2 separate regions of the Homo sapiens genome follow, and region 2 is linked to region 1. The links are contacts of gene promoters, found by promoter capture Hi-C in human tissues and cell types (Jung and others, 2019). All regions are on one chromosome and are shown on one strand. The core of a region is centred on a gene start or on the middle of the fragment in contact, and the rest is flanking DNA. Distances in the headings are between cores, read along the strand shown. Region 1 holds the start of SNX10 (sorting nexin 10). Region 2 overlaps SNX10 (sorting nexin 10).

Evidence for each region. The method cuts DNA at HindIII sites, captures the fragments that hold promoters and counts their contacts. A contact is called where the count stands out against the background at its distance.
Region 2: a fragment that was not itself captured here is called in contact with the fragment with the promoter of SNX10 in region 1 in 4 of the 25 tissues and cell types used here (hippocampus, pancreas, spleen and 1 more).

The regions. Positions count from the first base shown.
Region 1 is chr7:26,290,558-26,296,297 of GRCh38, forward strand. It overlaps SNX10 (sorting nexin 10), which reads left to right and starts at 1,305. Exons shown (of 7, transcript NM_013322.3): 1 at 1,305-1,529. RefSeq lists silencers at 1,329-1,568, 1,719-1,798 and an enhancer at 3,290-3,339. The HindIII fragment of the contact is 12,028 bases long and covers 1-5,740 here.
Region 2 is chr7:26,356,024-26,362,124 of GRCh38, forward strand. It overlaps SNX10 (sorting nexin 10), which reads left to right. Exons shown (of 7, transcript NM_013322.3): 3 at 4,952-5,038. Among named protein-coding and RNA genes, the nearest start is that of LINC02981, 39 kb to the right of the region's middle. The HindIII fragment of the contact is 9,864 bases long and covers 1-6,101 here.

The DNA of each region.
Region 1 (5,740 bases), core at 55-2,554:
AATTCTAACAGATATTCAAATGACTTTCAGTAGACTCTCCAAGGGTTTGTTGCTGCTTTGTCTACAGCTGTAAAGTCATGCTCTTGACAATAAGTTCAGAAAGATTTTAATTTTACAGAATCTCTTAGGATCTTAGATACATGCTGCATTTTGTTTTCTACTCAATGTTTTTCTTTGCGGAGCATAGGGACAAGAATATAAAAAATACACTTTAATTTGATTTTCTTTCTTTTTTTTTTGAGACAGAATCTTGCTCTGTCGCCCAGGCTGGAGTGCAATGGCATGATCTCGGCTCACTGCAACCTCTGCCTCCCGGGTTCAAGCTATTCTCCTGCCTCAGCCTCCCGAGTAGCTGGGATTACAGGCGCGCGCCACCACGCCCAGCTAAGTTTTTGTATTTTTAGTAGAGACGGCATTTCACCATGTCAGCCAGGATGGTCTCCATCTCCTGACCTTGTAATCCACCCGCCTCGGCCTCCCAGAGTGCTGGGATTACAAGCGTGAGCCACCACACCAGCTTAATTTGATTTTCAAAAGTGATCATGGTTGCATTCACTTGTGTGTCATGACTTGGGTGCAATTTTAGGAAATTAAATACCAGTGATTGAGGGTTCAGCAATACAACTTCAAGATCCAAGATGTTAAGACACAACATTGTATATTTATACGTTTTGTTAGGGAGTTAATGTAGGTGTGGTGAACAGATGCGTTTTCAGGTGGGCCTGGAATGGTCCCTGGAGGATGATCAGCGACAAGCTGTATCTAATGGGAAAATTCATGCTTGAAAAATGAAATATTAGGCTATGCTTATTATTCTGTGTCATTCAGTCACTTATTAGCAGTTTAAGTGATGATTGTGGTTTCCCATGCAAACAGGTGTGGGGACCCAGCCTCAGGTGCCATTTGGGAAATGCTTTCCTCAGTCAGGTCCCTTGGCAGATCTCATTAGCTTTCCCCCCAAATGTTTTATTGAGACATTTCAAACATAGACAAAAACTGAAATAATTTTATATAAACACCATAGCCCACCACCTAGATGCTATGAACATTCTGCCATTCTTGTTTATCACGTTATTTATCCGTCCTCCTCCCCATCGGCAATCCTCCCCATAACTGTGGGGTCAGGGTTAGGAAGCTTAAGGTGACTCAGGTGGCGAATTCCGAAGGGTGCCGCTGGAGCACCTCCAGCCTCAACGTCCGGACTAATGGGGGCATTTCCTCCCTAACTCAATTTCAGGAAGCAGGAGGCTAGCTCTGCAGGGTGGGGGCGCACCTGGGCTGGGCTGCGCGGAGGCGGCGGAAGCACTAGGCGCGGCGCCCACAGGCGGACGGCTGGCGCTGAGCGCGGGCGCGGGGCCGCTACGTGCGCGGGGAGCGCGGGGAGCGCGGGGAGCGCGGGGCTGCGCTCGTGTGCGCTCCTGGGCGCTCGCCGCCGCCGCTGCCGCCGCGCGCCTTTGAGTCAGCAAACTCCGCGGCCCGCAAGCCCGGCTCGGCCCGGCCCTGCTCTGTTCTGCCCGGAGGAGCCGCCCGTAAGTGACAAGAGACCCGCTGAGGGGGCCTCCCCTGCACCGCCCAGGTGGGGACGGCGGCCCTTCTTTCCAGAGGCGCGGGCCCTTCCCGCTGTTCCCAGGTGCCCGCACCCTTGCGGGCTGGAAAGAGGTTTGGGTCCCTTGGGCTTGGAGCAGAGGAGCCGCCTCCTTTTCAGCCGAGGTGTGCCGGGCAGGGAGAAATGATCAGCGCGGTAGAGCGGGGAGATGGAGCGCGTCGATCCAGGGATTCTTGGCTAAAAAGACACCCCGGGGAGAGGGTGGGGCAGAGGTGGATTCTAGATTACGGAAGAAGTGCTGTGGCACCTTACACCAGGCCGGGTAGAAGGGGGTGGGGAGGTGGTTTTTAAAATTTATTTATTTATTTTTTTATTCATTCATTAACGGGTAGCCTTGAGTTGAGGAATTGGGAGGGGTAGGCAGGTTTATTCGTGGGATTGTGGGATTGAGGGAGAAGGCCCAGGGGAAAATCCATATAATTGACTGATTATCAGATTTGGTGACCAGGAAAGCAACAGCCTGTTTTTCAGTTCCGATGCATCATACTTTTCTCAAATTACACGGATTATTGAGGGGGATCGTCACGGAATGGGGAGCAACATGTCCTGCTGAAAGGAAGGGCTTCTATCTCTACAAGACACGTTAAAAATGATGGTATCAGAAAATTAGAACGGGGAGGAGGCTTGCACATGATCTCCATCAAACCTTTCATTTTACAGACAGGGAGGCTAAGGCCGAGGGACGCTGAGTGTTGGGACCAGGATCATTCAGCCAGATGGGAGCAGAACCAGGCCTACAACCTGGCAGGCTTCTGACTTCCACCCCGGAGTTATGTCCACCTCTGGGGCCTGGGAACTGGGTTTGGATTGCATAAGCTCCCCCTCCTCTCCCAGGAGGGGGCTGGGCTGGAGGCTGAGGCCTTCGCCAGGAAGAAGCAGGGACTGCTTGGATAGTTGACCAGCTTCTGCAGGGGCTCCTCAGTGAGAGAATGGAGGTGAGGTCAGGGACTCCTGCCTTGCCTCTGCCATCACTTCCAGTGATGCCTATTCCTAAGGTAGGTACATAGCTGGACCTTCATTATTCTTAATATTATTTACTTTTTTCTTTTTCTTTTGAGACAAGGTATTATTCTGTCACCCAGGCTGGATTGCAGTGGTGCGATCTTGGCTCACTGCAAACTCCACCTCCCAGGCTTCAGTGATCCTCCCACCTCAGCCTCCCTAGTAGCTGAGACCACAGGTGCGGGCCACCACACCCCTGGCTAACTTCGGTATTTTTTTTGTAGAGACAGGGTTTTGCCATGTTGCCCCAGGCAGGTCTGGAAGTCCTGAGCTCAAGCAATCCACCTGCCTCGGCCTCCCAAAGTGCTAGGATTACAGGGGTGAGCCACTGCGCTCGGCCTTTTATTACTATTTTTTAAAGGAAGGGTAGACTTGAGATTGACTGATAGGGCAGTTTTTAATAAAAATACAAAAATAAAATACATTTAGAAGAAACTGTGTGAAGATGTGAAATATCAGTGATTAGCATGGACTCAACTGGTCGTCCTGTTTCTTCTACCAGTCCATTTCATTCTCACTTTTGATTACCATTTAACTGGGGAGGACATCAGTGTTGACAGTGGGACTTGCTCAGGCTGACACTGTGCCCCACCAGGGAGTCTCCCCTCCAGGCTGGTACACACTTCCTCTTATTTTACTAATGGGAAGGACCCCTGAGTTAGGTAACCTAAAGTAATAGAAATAAGCACGTTCATTAAAAAAAATAAAAGTATGTTAATCAAAGAGTAACGTTGGTGTTCTACAGCAATTCTGCTGGGCTTTGGAGCAGTGGATATCTTTTCTCAGCCCTAGGATCACTACTTTCATTTTAAGGCTTCATTTTGCTCGTTAAGTTACTGGGGAAAATAACTTCTTTTTTCCGTTTTTAGTGACAGGGCTGTGGTTTCACAACCACTTGGTGAAAGGCAGACAACTGGTTGAGAACAGGGGCCAGTCTATGCAGATTTTCATTTCCTAGCATGGCGGAGAAGGGCTTTTGGCCAAGCTCATGGTTGACTCTGTGGGGAATCCCCCAAATTTAGCATTGTTATCTCCAAACATCTTTTTCTTAGTAATCTGGTAGGTATGAATTAGCTCTTCTGTTCTCTAAGCCCTGTTCAAAGAGGAAGGTATATAGTGTAGTGGTTAGAACTTGTGATTCCAGACCCATCTGAGTTGAAATCTTGGTATAATAATTTTCTAAGTATAGTTTTGTTGGCGGGGCACTTAACACTCTCTGAGTTGCCTGTTATTCAGAAATAAAAAAGGGTGATGGTAATCTTTGCTTCCCAGAACTGTTAATACAACAGCTGACATTTATCGAGTGCTTACTATATTCCAGGCATCGTGACATTATCGAGCACTTAATTATGGGCCAGGCATTGTGAAAGAGTTTTTATGTGGCAGTCTCATTAAGCATCACAACAGACTTATGAAGCAGATTCTGTTACTGTCTTCAGTTTACCTCTGGGGAAACTAAGCCATCAGAGTATTTATGATTTCTCTAAACTCAGCTTACAGTTTTAACTACCCAACAAATGTGTGTCAGATTTCTGTTATAAGCTAATAGTTATCTAGGGCTTACTGTGTGGTAGGCCCTGTTACAAGTGTCCTAAGTACGTTAACAACCCTTGAGATAGGTATTGTTTTTCTCCCCTTCTTCTTTCTTTTTACAGATGTGGAAACTGAGGCACAAAGCCCAAGGTCAAACAACTAGTAATGCGAGAGCCAAAATTTGAACTAGGAGCCTGGGTCTGGAATCAGTAGTAACTCTCAGCCACCCACCTGCGAATGTAAAGGGCTTAGCCAGGCTTCAGTCAAGGGCAACTCCTATTGATACTTACATTTATTTTTCCCTAAGTAACTACTCCTTGCTCCCAGTTTCTGCAGAAGAGATGCTTTTAGTTCTACAAGTGATTCAACTTTACTCAAGGCTTTGTGATTCAGTATGTATTTCTATTGTAGTCTCTGTTATTTTTAAAATCTTGTGCTAGGCCTCAGTGATCTTGCCTCTGGGGACAGGGAAATAGTCTTTATCAGATCTGTGAACCCCTTTCAAATATATGATGTCATTTTTACTTTTTTTTTTGATACTTTTGTAGAGATGGGGTTTTGCCATGTTGCCCAGGCTGGTTTTGAACTCCTGAGCTCAAGTGATCCACCCACCTCAGCCTCCCAAAGTGCTGGGATTACAGGTGTGAGCTACTGTGGCCAGCCTGATTTCATATTCATCTGCAAAAGTGCATTATTCTGGGGGAGAGAATCTGTAGCTTTCTTCAGATTCTTACGTGGTCACCCATGGTGGAAAGAAAGTCATTATTCACCATTTTATTCTAATAATCTCATTTTACAAATGAGGCTACCAAGGCCCAATGGAGAGGCAGAATAACTTAATCTGAACTACACAGCTAATTAGAGGTAAAAACGGGACTCAAACTCAGGTTCCTGAACTTCCAGTCTCATATTCTTTCCATTATAGCCTGATAGTTCCCTGTGGATTAAGTGGTGCCAGATCAATCAATTACGAATTGCCAGAGACCCCCAGCTCTCTCACCAAGCTGTCCAATGCATGAGGCCAGCAAAGCTGCCTGGAAGTGCCTGTCAAAATACGACATCGTTTGGCATGTGATCCTGTTAGCTGAGCCACTTTACTCTGATTTGGTATGGGAATCTACAACTCGGAGAGATGTGAGCCAGGAAAAGAAAAGCTGTTTGGGGAGAAGAAGAGGAATGTTGCAGACATGCATTGGTTGAGGCACAGGCAGCCATTCAGACCTCTTGGTAGAATTGTCGTATTGGAAAGTTTTTGCTAAGAGATTTAGAAATTCAAACAAAATTCCCTGGGCCGGGTGTGGTGGCGCATGCCTGTAGTCCCAGTTACTTAAGAGGCTGAGGTGGGAGGATCGCTTGAGCCCAGGAGGTTGAGGCTGCAGTGAGCTGTGATTGCACCATTGTACTGCAGCCTGCACAACAGAATTAGACTCTGTCTCATAAATAAATAAATAAATACAAATAACCCCCAAATTCCCTGAAGTCTGAGATTTTTGCATAGTATGTGGCTCACTGGGAAGTAAGCCATCTCCTGGCTGAAGGGTGATGCTCCAACGACAAAAGAAGACTAAAAGAGTTGGGTTCTGGTGGCTCACACCTGTA
Region 2 (6,101 bases), core at 2,054-4,553, 67 kb after region 1:
AGTTATTTTTATTATTAGTTTCATCTCACTTAAGGGCTAAGGAAAAAAATGATAGGGTAGAAGTGGATAATGGTCAAACCTGGGGTGTGGGGATGGGGGAAAAACAGGGAACATTGAAATCAAAGGCTGATTATTATAGGATAACACAGGAATTAGATCTTCAAAGAGTCTAGGAGTCTTTCTTTAGAAGTCTGTTTTCACATGGAGAACAGCAGGGACAGTTAGTCTAAATTTTTAATTCCACTCTGCCTGGCTTTCTCATACTACATATAGTCATTAGGCCCAAGAAGTCATTAAAGTGTTTAATAAGGTTATTAAATTGACTAACTGCAGCTGCTGAAGCAATTTTCCTAGGAAATCCATATGATTCTAGGTAAGGGGCTGTGGAACTGTCCTCTGTGGCTGACAGCCTGTCAACATTCCTTTGAAGGATGGCGGGCAGTGTCGTGAGGGATGCGTCTAATTAAGAGATTAGAGGTGAACCTTGGCTTCCTGGGTGTGCTATTTGTAGCTGAGAGTATGGGGAAACTTCACTAATTCCTACTAATTGCAGAGTGGGGGAGGAGGAGACCCATGTGAATTATAGAATATTTTAAAATAAATGTACTTTTATTACTTTCAAGTACATATTTTAACTCCCACTAGGCCAACAAATTGTTGCCTGGTACAAGTCTTAGGGGACTAAGTTACTGAAGCTATCAGAAGGATTTTCAATTATTTCTATGTAAATAGGTGCTTCTGGAGTTCTTTAGGGTGCTAGAAAACAGTTTGTTCTCCCAGATCTTAAACATTGCTCTTGGATCCTTATGCTGTTAATTGGCACATCCTTAGAGGAAGGGGTTTGTTAAATTAAGATAAACTTAGACCAGCTGCTAAATAACTTATCATTAATTCATGGAGCCCAAGAACCCAAGTAGATGAGGTTTTAATTTCAAGTGAAGTTTGATTTTCCTTTCCTGAAGGCAGTTTGTTTATTCCTACAGGCATTTATTTATTCATTAAATGATACTAATGGAAGGCATTGGATGTATGAGGCATTCAAGTCTTACAAGACAGCCTAAGCTGCCCTACAGGAGCTTAGCGTCTGCTAGAGGAGGCCTACAGGTAATTACAATACAGCACAGTAGGATGTGGTGAGTAGGGACTATGCCCAAGGCAATCCCAGAGACATTAGGGGCCCAGAGGAGGGTCAAATAAGTCATACTGGGTGAATCTGAGAAGGGTTCCCAGAAAAAGTGGTGACCGAGTTGCATTTGAAAAATGAATTGGAGTTGGCAAAAAATAGTAGAAGAAAAGAGAAGATTAAAAAAAAAAAAAAAAAAAGGCAGTAGGGTGGCCTAGCAATCCAGGCAGAGAACAGCTTAGTTAAAGGCATGGAAGTGTGAAGTGGCATGTTGCTTATGGGGACCTATGCTTAGCCTTTGAAGATAAGCAGAGTGAAAATCATGAAAGGCTGTATTGTGCTAGCTGAGGAGTTTGAACTTGAAGGTTATGGGGCAACCTTTGAAGGATTTTCAGAAGGAAAGCAACATCATCAGATACGTGTTTTGGAGCCATTCTTGTCTTCATGTGGGGAATGCACTGGATATGGGCCCCGAAATAAATTAGCAGTTCTTGCATTAATGTTGGGCAAGAGGTCCTTGAACCAAGGCAGTAGCAGAGGGAATAGTTGTCAGTGGTTCCAAGGAGAATGACTATGAAGGACTTGGTCTGTGTGGATTTGGGGAATGAGTCAAACAGAGGGGTCTAGGAGAACTGGGTTTCTAGCTGGGGTTGGTGGGAGATGCTCTTCACTGAGAAGGGGAGCAGGATGCTGTGGGAAGGGTATGGACATGGCGTGCTCAAGGGACTTCTAGGTGGATCAGGCTAGAGGCTGGATCCATGGGAGAGGTGCCTGCACTGGGATGGAGCTTTGGGTGGGGTCCATCAGCTCATGGGAGGGGGTTGAATGTGTTTGGATGAGGTCACCCTAGAATTGCAATAGTGTGCAAAGAACAACAGCCTGGGTTGGCTCTCAGGCACAGAAACGTTTCAGGATGCAGAGAGGGAAGAAGTTTGCCATCCACAAGAGAATAGTGATATTTAGCACTCCAACCAAATTAAAGATTTTCAGGATTGAAACAATATGTGGAGTCTTAGTGCTGCAATGAATTTTGAGTGTGCATTTAAAAGTTTAAGAGACACACACACATACACGGTGACAAGAGATGGAGGTGAAAAGCATAGGCCAAGAGCAGAGTACCTGGATTTTTGCTTCTGTTTCCATCCCTGGGCAGAATCTGCTTTATCACACTGTGATTAGGGGATATTATGGATATTTGGTTTAAAAATGGTTTTTAAATCCCTCTTATAATTTAGAATGTGCTTTTAAGAAATGATGGTTGTCTCTTAATGCGCATGAAAAAAATAAAGAAATAGAGAAGAAGAAATACTGGCTGGGGCACAGTGGCTCATGCCTATAATCCCAGCACTTTGGGAGGCTGAGGCAGGGGTGTTGCTTGAGCCTAGGAGTTCAGAATCAGCCTGGGCAACATAGCAAGACCCCATCTCTAAAAAAATTAAAAAATTAGCTGGGCATGGTGGCACCCGCCTGTAGTCCAGCTACTGGGGGCGGGGTTGGCTAAGGTAGGAGGATCATTTTAGCCCTGGAGTTTGAGGCTGCAGTGAGCTGAGATCGTACCACTGCACTCCAGTCTGGGTGACAGAGTGAGACCCTATCTCAAAAAACAGAAAAAAGAAAAGAAATAATGGCCAAAGAGCATCACTATAGTGTTATCTTGTGTTTTTTTTTTTTTTTTTTTGACCAAGTCTTGCTGTTGTTGGCCCGGGCTGGAGTGCATTTAGTGGCGTGATCTTGCTGCAACCTCCGCCTCCTGGGTTCCAGCAATTTTCCTGCCTCAGCCTCCTGAGTAGCTGAGATTACAGGCGCCCAACACCATGCCCAGCTAATTTTTGTATTTTTAGTAGAGATGGGGTTTCACTATGTTGGCCAGGCTGGTCTCGAACACCCGACCTCTGGTGATCCACCCGCCTCAGCCTCCCAAAGTGCTGGGATTACAGGTGTGAGCCCTGCCTATCTTGTTCTTATTCTATCCCCTAAATGATTTTAAAAATACACAATGAAAATATTTTAAAAGAAGACTTTTTGGAACAGTAATTCATAATCCCTGTCTACTAAAGACAAGTAGTGGGACAGAAGTCTCCAGTGCAAGGACAAAGTGTTGCCCTAGAAGGTGAAACTTGATAGGGGCAAAAGTTATTTTCAGAGTGTGGTGTATTTTTTTGATTAAAAAAAATCCTCTATGATGAAGAGTCTCATTTAATTATCTGCATGATTCAATGGAGGTGCTTTGTCCAGAAAGCCCCCGATCTCTCTTTTTCTTCTGCTCTCAAGCGTTCATAGCCTGCCTCTCAGATGTGCCCCAACAAGCAATAAGAAATGCCTGAATTCCAGCATTGAACTCCCAATCTTATCAAAAAGCTCTAATATTTAAAATCAAACTCAGTTAGCAAGTTTATGATCACTGAGTAAATAAGTTATACTTAAAAACTTATGTGAAACATGATAGTTTTTTGCTGTACATTTTCAAATTTTTAAACTAAACCTATTTAGTAAAGAGCACCTGTTAAAAAGTATTGTTTTAATTTTTTTTTTTTTTGAGACGGAGACTTGCTCTGTCGCCAGGCTGGAGTGCAGTGATGCGATCTCGGCTCACTGCAACCACCGCTTCCTGAGTTAAAGCGATTCTCCTGCCTCACAAGTAGCTGGGACTACAGGCACACGCCACCACGCCCAGCTGATTTTTGTAGTTTTAGTAGAGACAGTGTTTCACCATGTTGGCCAGGATGGGCTCAATCTCTTGACCTTGTGATCTGCCCGCCTCGGCCTCCCAAAGTGCTGGGATTACAGGCGTAAGCCACTGCGCCCGGCCTATTGTTTTAAATTTTGCCCCATGTTTTCTATTCTTATTATCTTTATAAAAGAACAAAATTATCTACTGTATATGATTTTTAATATCCCTAACTTCTATGTATAACACAAAGGTATTATGAAGATGAAATGATTTAATGTAGGGGAAATGTATTTTAAAAATAGAAAAGTATTATGTAAAAGAAGGTGTTCCTCTTTCTATTAATAAGTTATTATCGCTTATTCTCATGTGGCTGGGATGCATGCACAAAGTCAACTTCAACCCTCTTTGCTTACTTTTCCCATGAGCTTTGGTGTCCTTTCTTTTTCTTCTTTTGATACAGGGTCTCGCTCTTTTGCCCAGGCTGGAGTGCAGTGGCACAATCAAGGCTCACTGTAGCCTTGACCTCCTGGGCTCAAGTGATCCACCCTCCTCAGCCTCCTGAGTAGCTGGGACTACAGGCATGCACCACACTGCGCCTGGCTAATTTTGTATTTTTTGTAGAGATGGGGTTTCACCATGTTGCCTAGGCTGGTCTCAAACTCCTGGGCTCAAGAGATCCTTCCAAAGTGCTGGGATTACAGGTGTGAGCCACCCTGCTTGGCCTGGTGCCTTTCTTATTTGTGTCCTAGGAAGCACCTTACCCAGAAGGGCCCATTGTTTCAGTTTAGAGAGATGAAGAAAGTAAGAAATGATCACTTTTTAAATTTGAAAAAAACCTGAACCAATTATTTAAGATTAAAAATTAAAAATCAGTTTTACAGTATACTTTGTCTTCAGATAACCAGTAAAACTATCCAGAAGTGCTCCCACCTCAGTGTTGCATTATTTTAAAAATTCCATTATGTGGCAAAAGTGTGTTCTAGATTTGCTCGTGGTGCCTGATTCATTAACTTTACTTCTTGTTTTTTAAAGGATTACAAGTACCACATTGGTTAAAGCTCATTTCAGTTTTGTTTTAGTGCAGTCGTTTTGTTCAGTTCTTTCCAGTCCTACTTGCAGTTCTGAAGAATATTTCTTTGTTTATGATGCCATTACAGGAATTTGTAAGTGTCTGGGTTCGAGATCCTAGGATTCAGAAGGAGGACTTCTGGCATTCTTACATTGACTATGAGATATGTATTCATGTAAGTATGTAGTCAGTAGAAATAGTAATTTTGAGGGACTTTTATGGGATACATTTTATGGGATAAAGTTGACACTTGTAAAAGTTTTTCTCATTCAAATAACTGAATTTGAATGATTACAACTAATGCTTTTATCTTACATGAACTAGTAAGATGGTTCCTAAAGTTGAAAAATTACTTATTTGAATCCCTTATTGTTCCTTTGTTAATATTAACATTTTAATGTTTATTGCCTTCACATGTGAAGATGTGCACGCATCTAAAATGCATGGGTAAAGAGTACTTATAGCTCATTAATGGCATTTCTTATGATCTGCTATAGCATATTTCTGGATAATATAATGCCTGATAACCTTCAAGTTTGAGAGGATATAGAGTTCTTTGGAAAAGAGATGTGTGGTGTTTTATATATAGAATCAGAAGGTGGGAAATGGATATGTGCAATTATTGTGATTAATTTATCTAGAATCTGAGTAATTAATGTAACGAGTAAGCAACTAGAAATGATGTGCCTTGCGTGGATGCTACTGTATCACAATCTCTTGAAAATGTTGTGTGGTGTGTGGCCTTCTGTGACCATCTTAAACAAGGGTAAGCAAACTTCTCTGTAAAGGTAGTAAATATCTTCAGTTTGTGGGCCATACAGTTTCTGTCGAGACTACTCATTTCTGCTGTTGCAGGTGAAAAGCAGCCACAGACAGTGCATAAATGAATGAGCATAATTGTATTCCAATAAAACTTTATGTGCAAAGACAGGTGTCAGACCAGATTTGGCCCTCAGGCTGTAGTTTATTGGCCCCGATTTTGAGGATAATACTCTTTGCATCTAAACCAGATGCATATCAGATGCAAACTAAATTAGTTCAACTGGGGAGCATAGCAATTGACCCAGATTGTATCCGTGACTTCATAGCACAAGTGAAGTAAAATTTAGCCATTATTTAATCTTCCCATTGTAAATAGCTAACTTGGTATATTGGACACCCAAACACCAGCTGTAGAACTTTTCTTTTTTTAAATTCTCCTTTCTTCTCTTTTTTCTTTGAAGTTTCCCCAACTTTGA